2 separate regions of the Homo sapiens genome follow, and region 2 is linked to region 1. The links are contacts of gene promoters, found by promoter capture Hi-C in human tissues and cell types (Jung and others, 2019). All regions are on one chromosome and are shown on one strand. Each heading gives the region's core, a stretch centred on a gene start or on the middle of the fragment in contact. The rest is flanking DNA. Distances are from core to core; before and after follow the strand shown. Region 1 holds the start of DCAF10 (DDB1 and CUL4 associated factor 10). Region 2 overlaps FRMPD1 (FERM and PDZ domain containing 1).

Region 1 (4,211 bases), core at 205-2,704:
GTTTTGCTCAGCATGGTTACTCCTGCATTTGGAACATAGCAAGTGCTCAACAAATATACGCCGAATGAGAGAATGAATGAATGAACAACTGAGTAAACAACTAGCAACCGAGAGGCTTGGTGGGGTAAGAATTACATTAACTATGTCACCTCATGGTGGAACTGTGCACATTTTTTCTTTTGATGGCGGACTTGTGTACTGACAAGACAAAGTTTTAAATAGATACGATTTTGGAAAGTTCCCTTTAAAGCAAAGCCATACAATAAATATTTAATCAGCCAAGAAAAAGGCTGTAGTCTAGCCTGGGGACTTCACAAATGACCCAAATCATGAGAGCCACGTCTCTACAGTGTCTTAGTACTGTATCTTCCTTGAGCAAAGGAACGCACTTGCCCCATCATGGCAAGTTCAGGTACAGAGTGCAAGGAATCTACAGCTTTCCTACCCCGACACAGGTTTAGGTAGGAAAACGCGAGCCTAGGATGATGGGGAGAAAGCGGGCATTTATTCAAAATGTATTTACTGAGCACCTACTGTGTACCAGAAAGCCCTAGTTGTGGGCTGGCTCTGACAGGTCCGCTGTGTAGCTTCGGGCATTTCTCCTTCACAGAGCCCAAGTCCTGAAGGCGAGCAAGTGGGGCCCCGCCTGCCTGCCTCAAAAAGCTGGGCTGGGGATTCCAAGGGCGAGAATGCGCTTCAGAAAGTGCCAGGAGGCACGAAGGCCAGCGGCCCCAAACGGCCTCGCTAACCTCGGCCCGGGCGCGGGGAGCGAGCCCAGGACGGCCGTCCGCTGGCAGCAGAGCCGGGCGGAGGCGGGCGCCCGCCCTCCGAGGGGCCGCGCTTACCCGTCGGGCGAGTACTCGAGGTTGAAGACGGCGCCGTGGGTGCGGGTGCTGAGGTACACCGAGTCCGCGGGGTGGATGGAACCGTAGAGGCTAGTCATGGTGCGAAAATTGTCCCGCGCCGGGTCCACGAACAGCCCGCGGCCCAGGCTGCGCTCTTTCAGCCACCCGAACAGCCTAGCGCCAGGGCCGCCCAGGCCCGCGCCGAGGCCGTGTCGGCCCCGGCTCTTGGCCCTGCAGTCTGGCCCGGGCCGCCGGCACGGAGGGGAGGGAGGTGACGGCTCTCCCGGGGCGGAGGCAGTTGAGGACTCCGGAGCTCCAGGCAGCCCTAGCTCTCCGGAGCGCGGGGCCGGGGACAGCGATGGGGCGCCGGGGCGGCGAGGGCTTCGGGCGGGTGGAGGGGGATGGGTCGCATCAGCCCCGGGATGTAGTGGCGAGGGCGGCCCGGTGGCTGCTGCCTGCCCCTCGTGGGGCGTCGGCTCCTCAGCCCCGGCTCCGGCCGATCCGTCCCCTCCAGGGCTATGGGGCCCAAAGGGAAACATGATCAACGCCCCCGCCCCCCGCTCCGGGCCACTGCCCCGCCGGCCGACACCTCAGTGCCCCTGTTCAGCTGCCACTTCCGGCGTGCAGCGGCCTAACCCCACCGGCTGGAAACCCGCGCCGCCCCTCGGCCACCGTCCGCCGGGGACCGGGAAAGCTGAGACACCGCCGGGTTTGGGGCGCCGCAGTCCCGGGAACGGAGGTAGGGAGCGAGTAGTTACCTGTGTGAGCGACTGAGCATCTGGGCACCTGATCTGGGTGGCAGAGTCGGTCTGTAGTTGTCAGTGACCGGTGGCCGCGTGCCTGGGGATGAGTGGCCTGACCAGTCAGTCCTGTGAGGCTGAGTATGTACTGGTGTCTCCACTTTACACTGGGATCAGCGAGGGATTAAGAATTAGTGCATTACGTGCAGGCCACACACAATAGGTGACATGCCACTCTTTTTTTTTTTTTTTTTTTCCGAGATGGAGTCTCGCGCTGTCGCCCAGGCTGGAGTGCAGTGGCGCGATCTCGGCTCACTGCAACCTCCGTCTCCCGGGTTCAAGCAATTCTCTGCCCCAGCCTCCCGAGCAGCTGGGATTACAGGCGCCCACCACCACGCCCGGCTAATTTTTTGTATTTTTTAGTAGAGATAGGGTTTCACCATCTTGGCCTGGCTGGTCTTGAACCTCGTGATCCACCCGCCTCGGCCTCCCGAAGTGCTGGGATTACAGGCATGAGCCACCGCGCCTGGCCAGCATGCCCAACTCTTAAAGGCACAACAAGTTCAGGGTGACCACAGGCAGCTTCTTCCAAAACCTATTTGTCACAAGGCAAAGGAGAGACTGAGAGGAAACAGGTTTGGATGTGCTACCCAAGGAATGGCTGAGATAGCCAGTCTGTGTATCTGGGCTTAAATGAAAGATGGCAAATAGGTGATAGTTACTTTTCTGGGTCAACTTGACTGGGCTAACAGATGCCCAGATAGCCTGGAAAACCATTATTTCTGTGTGTGCCTGTGAGGGTGTTTCCAGGACAGATTAGCATTTGAATCAATAGAAGATCTGCCCTCACCATTGTGGACAGGCATCATCCTATTCATTAAAGACTGAAAAGGAACAAAAAGGCAGAAGGGTGATTTAACTTTCTCTTAAGTTGGTACATCCATCTCCTGCCCTTAGACATCAAAACTCGGTTCTGCGGGCTTTGGACTTGGGGACTCATCGTCAGTTTTCAGGCCTTCAGTCTTGGACCGGGAGTTATACCATTAGCTCCTCTGATTCTCACACCTTCAGACTCAGACTGAATTACACCACCAGATTTCCTGGTTCTCCAGCTTGCAGACTGCAGATCATGGGACTCCTCTACAATGATATGAACCAATTCCCATATTAAATGTTCTCTTATATCTATATCTCCTATTGGTTCTACTTCTCTGGAGACCCCCTGGATGGGTCCAATCTACTGTAGCAGCCTACTTGCCTGGCATTCACACTCTTCATGTGTATGCCAGCACGTATATTCTACTGAACCCATCCTAGAAGTCCTAGGCTGTCGAATTTTGTAGCTGTTACTTAGCTTTCCTTGCCTACTAGCCGGGGTAGGACAACTATTTGAGTAACCAGGCTATAGATTAGCCACTGGTCCATGAGGCTGCCAGACCAAAAGTCTTTGCCCATACAGACTCATGCTCTTGGGAATTTGAATTGGGAAATCAGAAGTGAGGCAGTTGGCCATGATGGTTGGGATTGAAAAGTCATAAGGCAGAGTGAGGCCGCTGGAGTCCTGAGCAAACCAAAGGAGTAAGAGAAATCATGAGAAAGCAGCAGCCATGAGAGAACAGACTTGGGATAGACGGTGAGAAAGAAAGTTGATGGTAGGAGGAGATACAGATACATAAAAAGAGACAGACTCAGAACAGGTTAGACTTGTTCTTGGCAGAGTCCCCCTAGGGTCTTCCTGCAGAGTCCCTTGAGGTACCAGAATGATGGCTGCTCAATTTCAGTTTCAGTTTCCTGTGGGATGATCACTTGATTTCACAATACCTGAACCAGGACTTATGCACTGACAAAAAGAATCAAGGGCCAGACACAGTGGCTCACACCTGTAATCTCAGTGCTTTGGGAGGCCAAGGTAGGAGGATCTTTTTTTTTTTTTTCAGGGTCTCACTCTGTTGACCAGGATGGAGTACAGTAATACAGTCATGGCTCACTGCAGCCTCAACCTCCCAAGCTCAAGCAGCAGGAAGATCTTTTGAGGGTAAGGAGTTTGAGACCAGCCTGGGCAACATCATGAAACTCTGTCTCTCTATGAAAAATAACAAAATCATTCCGGTGTGGTGATGCATGCTTGTAGTCCTAGCTGCTCGGAAGGCTGAGCCAGGAGGATCCCTTGAGCCCAGGAGTTCAAGGTTACAGTGAGCTGTGATCACCCTGCACTTCAGCCTGTTGCACTTCAGCCTGAGCAACAGAGTGAGACCCCATCTCAAAAATTAAAAAAAAGAATTGGCACTTTGGGAGGCCGAGGCGGGTGGATCATGAGGTCAGGAGATCGAGACCATCCTGGCTAACAAGGTGAAACCCCGTCTCTACTAAAAATACAAAAAATTAGCCGGGCGCGGTGGCGGGCGCCTGTAGTCCCAGCTACTCTGGAGGCTGAGGCAGGAGAATGGCGTGAACCCGGGAAGCGGAGCTTGCAGTGAGCCGAGATTGCGCCACTGCAGTCCGCAGTCCGGCCTGGGCGACAGAGCGAGACTCCGTCTCAAAAAAAAAAAAAAAAAAAAAAAAAAAAAAAAAGAATTGGAATGACAACCAAGAAAACAAATGTGTCCTTTCAACCAGGGAGCCTTCT
Region 2 (4,565 bases), core at 470-2,969, 88 kb after region 1:
TATGGCAAACATCTTCATCCTCATTAGGTAGGTTTTTTCCTACTCTATTTCCAAGAAATAAAAACAAAAGATAACATTTGTCAAATACAGAGAGGAGACAACACTTTCTCTGCTTTCTAGTTTATGAAGTGTTTGGACCACAGAAGGTTTATATTTTCATGTAATCAAATCACCTTTGTTCCACTGTGCTTCCTTCCACGCCCTAAATGCGTAGGCAACCTTTCTACAGCCTATGACCAGACAGACATCCATCCATATTGTTTGTATTTTTAGAGTTGAGACTGTATTTTTTCCAAATACTTAAACAAATGTCCAAGTTTGATTTCTTGAATAATTGCCTTTTCTCCCACAGATTTGGAATGCTATGTTTTTCACAAACTATATACATATATATACACACACACACTATATATAGTTATATATAAATGGTCATATATATATAGGTCTCTCTATATATATGGTCTCTCTCTCTCTCTCTACATATATATATATATACGGTCTCACCTTGTCACCCAGGCTGGAGTGCAGTGGTGCGATCTCAGCTCACTGCAGCCTCGACTTCCTGGGCTCAAGCGATTCTCTCACCTAAGCCCCTGCCAGCTATAATCATTTTGTTTTTGTTTTTGTGTTTGTAGAGATGGGATTTTGCCATGTTGCCCAGGCTGGTCTTGAACTCCTCAGCTCAAGCTATCCGCCACCCTCAGCCTCCCAAAATGCTGGGATTACAGGCATGAGCCACTGCACCCAGCCTCACATACTATGTTCCTATACTAGCATCTACTCTTGAACTTTTTATCTGATTACATTGACATGTTCAACATTTCACCAATATCATACTGTTTTAATAATTGTAGCTTTGTTCGTTTTTAAACCTGCCTATCAAGGCCATCCTCATTATCCTTTTTAAAAAAGGTTTTCTTGAGATAAGTCTCACTTTGATATACTTTGTTAAATCCAAATGAAAGTCCCGTAAGAGTTTGCTTGAATTTGTATTAAGTATATATATTAATATAATAACTGATATATTAATAATACTTAGTCTCCCCATCAAGGAACATAGTATGTATCTCCTTTTATGTTATTTTTTTATATATGTCAGTAATAGTCTAGTTTCCTCCACATGAGACTCCCATATCTCTTTCCCTTAAGGTTTTTGTATTTTATATAACTTTTGTCTTTAAAGAAATAGCTTTTGGACTTAACAACATTACAATCTTTCTGTTTTCCAGAGGATCATTTATATTTTAATTTTTATTACTTTATTCTGCTTTATGTTTGTTTTATTAATCTTTTCTTCTAACTTCTTGCACTGAATATTTAATTGATTTACTTCTGTATTAAATGATAAAAACACTCAAGGCCATGAATTTTACTCTGAGTGTAGCTTCAACTGCACATAATTACTTTTAAGAAGTACAGTTCTGGCCTGGCATGGTGGATGACGCCTGTAATCCCAGCACTTTGGGAAGCCGAGGCAGGTGGATCACCTGAGGTCAGGAGTTCAAGACCAGCCTGGCCAATGTGGCGAAACCCTGTCTCTACTAAAAATACAAAAATTAGCTCAGCATGGTGGTGGGTGCTTGTAATCCCAGCTACTTGGGAAGTTGAGGCAGGAGAATCACTTGAACCCAGGAGGTGGCGGTTGCAGTGAACTGAGATCACGCCATTGCACTCCAGTCTGCACGACGGGAGTGAGACTCCATCTCAAGAAAAAATAAAAGAAGTACAGTTTTAATTTTCAATTATTTTCTAAATAGTCTATAATGATAGTTTTTCTTTTTCTATTTGACTCAATCTTTACTTAGGAAATTACATTTTTATTTCCAAATGGCTGAATGGTTTTTAATTGAATTTTTAATAGTTATTAGCTTCTATTTTATTATATTCGGAAAAAGGGACCTGCACAGTTTTTCATTTGGGGAATTTATTGAGTTTTCTTGGTAGCCTGGTATGTGGTCAATTAAATTAGATTATTAAGTACATTATTCAAATTCTCTATGCCCCTCTTTTTTATTTTGGTCTATTTGTGGCCAAGGCTAAGAAGTACTATTAAAATTTCTCACAATGAAAATTTTCTATCAACTTTTGAAAAACTATCTCCTTAGTAGTTTTTCCTTTGAAAATTTGATTATATACTTTCCCTAAATAATACATAAGGAGCTCCTCGGCCTGTGGTGGTTTAGGATTGCCGCTTCCTCCCTGTGCATCATCTATGCCACACCTTGCCGTGTGGTGAGCCTCAGAGCTGATAAAATACTTTCATATCCAACATCTCATTTGGTCCTTCTAACAACCCATTAAACAGACAAGGCAGTTATTGTCATGACTATTTTACAAAAGTGAAAACTGAAACTAAATGATTTTCCCAAAGTCATACCACTCAAACCTGTCTTGAAACTCCAGTTTGGTGCCCTTACCATCATCCTACTGTGCATAGCCATAGGTCCATCTCCTCAGCTGGACCATAAATTCTTGAGGCCTTCACCATATCTGTTTCCTCCACAGTACTTGCATGGAGGAGGTCTTCAGATAACATGGACTGACTGGCCACCCACTGCCGGGCAGCTGTCACCCTCCACCCTTTGCCTTCCCCGCTTACTTTATGAGGGATATCCTCTGGGGGAACAGGGTCTTAGGGCCAAGAATGGTGAAACTAACACACAGGACATAGAAAGAGATTTACCGACGTGCAGCGAACAACTGTGATTGAAAGAGAATCTTCTGCTTCCCTGAAAAAAGAAAGAATAAAGACAAAAACATTTAGTCGTTCTGCGTGATGGATGCACGTGCATGCATACATGTGTGAGCATGTGTGTTAGGGTCAAAAAGACTGGCAGAATGAGTATAAAGCAGCCTCCTTTGCCTTAGCTTTTTTGGCTCAGCAAAACTGAGAAAGATATTGGGAAATGCAGCAACCTGCAAAGGAACTTAAGCTGACCCAGAGAGCTCCTCCCACCTGGAGGGAATTTTCGTAAGTTCACCTCTACCATCTAGTCTATATCTACAGCCACAACATTAATTAAGGCACTTAGCCTTAATTTAGTCCTATACAATGAAGAACTCATCCAGTGACAACCAGCTAGATTTATGTCCCCCAATTTTTTTTTTTTTTTTTTTTTGTGAGACAGAGTCTTGCCCTGTTGCCCAGGCTGGAATGCAATGGCGCAATCTTGGCTTGCTGCAACCTCCGCCTCCCGGGTTCAAAGAATTCTCCTGCCTCAGCCTCCCGAGTAGCTGGGACTACAGGCACCCGCCACCACACCCAGCTAATTTTTTAGTAGAGATGGGATTTCACCATGTTGGTCAGGCTGGTCTCAAACTCCTGACCTGGTGATCTGCCCACCTCGGCCTCCCAAAGTGCTGGGATTACAGGTGTGAGCCACCGTGCCCAACCCAAAAAAATTTTTTAGGAGAAAATATGGCAATAACACAGATAACTCAGGTTGCTATTTCATAAAACTCAGGCTAAACATTTCACTAAACAGAATGAATGTCTGTGGATAACGTTTATCAGATAAAAGCCAAAGAGTTTATGGTGTTTGGGCACACAAAGTCGGTGTAATGAGCCCAATCATATAATCAAGATAGTAGACATCTTTGTCTTGCATTATCTCTTAGATTTCAAAAGTGATCAAATCAAGCAGATAACTGCTTGACCTCTACTTTATATTAGCGGCCAGAACAGAGAAAATCGATCATATTTTCCTTTCTCTTTGCCACTGCTACCATGGAGAAGCAGTTGGCAAAATAATTTCATTTGACTTCTTGCAATATGAACATTTAGGCCAATTGCTGCTGGTGTGTTATTTCCTCAAAAGGATAAACTCAACCCAAGATGTCTAAGTGTCTAGGGACTTCCTCTTTTCCATTTTAAATGAGAACAGGCCTTTTCTGAGATAAATCACAATAAACCCAAATGCAAGTGCTCTAAAAGGACATACTGGCCTCATAGCTATTTGGAGGAATTTGAGATGTTTTCTTGGCATTGTTGTTGTATCTTTTTGTTTTGCTTTGTGTTTTACCTTTTACACGTGACACTGAATAATACATGCTGGTTTTAGACACTGGGAACTAAGCTTAAAAAAAGTAAGGCGTCCTGGGATTCTCACATGCAAAAGACAGCAGAGGGTACAGATGCACAGCACACCTCAAGTCATGCATCCCTGCTCAGAAGCCTTCAACTGCTCGCCCTTCCAGGGGGAGAATCACACTGAAACATGCTGTGCTGGCATTCAAGACCTTCTATCATCTGGACTTCACTTCCTAGAACTTTTCTGCAGGCAAACTGAACTGCTCAGCAGCCCCTACTTCCCACCCAGTTGCTTCTGTTTACCTCTTTGCCTGAATCACCCTTCACCTCCATCTTTTGGACCAAATTTTACCCAGCATTAAAGACACAACTGAAATATTTCTGGGCCCTTCTCTGTTTTGTCAGCCTACAACTTCTGCCCAAGTTGGAGGACTCTCCAGCATTTACAGTGTATTTCCTTGGCTTTTCTTTTCTTTTTCTTTCTCTCTTTTTTTGAGATGGAGTCTTGTTCTGTCACCCAGGCTGGAGTGCAGTG

The links. Contacts are between HindIII fragments. The study calls those that stand out against the background at their distance.
Region 2: a fragment that was not itself captured here is called in contact with the fragment with the promoter of DCAF10 in region 1 in 2 of the 25 tissues and cell types used here (bladder and pancreas).

What each region holds. Positions count from the first base shown.
Region 1 is chr9:37,798,040-37,802,250 of GRCh38, reverse strand. DCAF10 (DDB1 and CUL4 associated factor 10) reads right to left here and starts at 1,454. Exons shown (of 7, transcript NM_024345.5): 1 at 846-1,454. The coding sequence starts at 1,384. LOC105376037 (a long non-coding RNA gene) reads left to right here and starts at 1,360. Exons shown (of 3, transcript XR_929599.3): 1 at 1,360-1,584; 2 at 3,523-3,620. RefSeq lists enhancers at 323-372, 1,324-1,925 and silencers at 683-742, 963-1,482. The HindIII fragment of the contact is 16,578 bases long and covers 1-4,211 here.
Region 2 is chr9:37,709,514-37,714,078 of GRCh38, reverse strand. It overlaps FRMPD1 (FERM and PDZ domain containing 1), which reads right to left. Exons shown (of 16, transcript NM_014907.3): 5 at 2,684-2,729. Among named protein-coding and RNA genes, the nearest start is that of TRMT10B, 42 kb to the left of the region's middle. The HindIII fragment of the contact is 9,572 bases long and covers 1-4,565 here.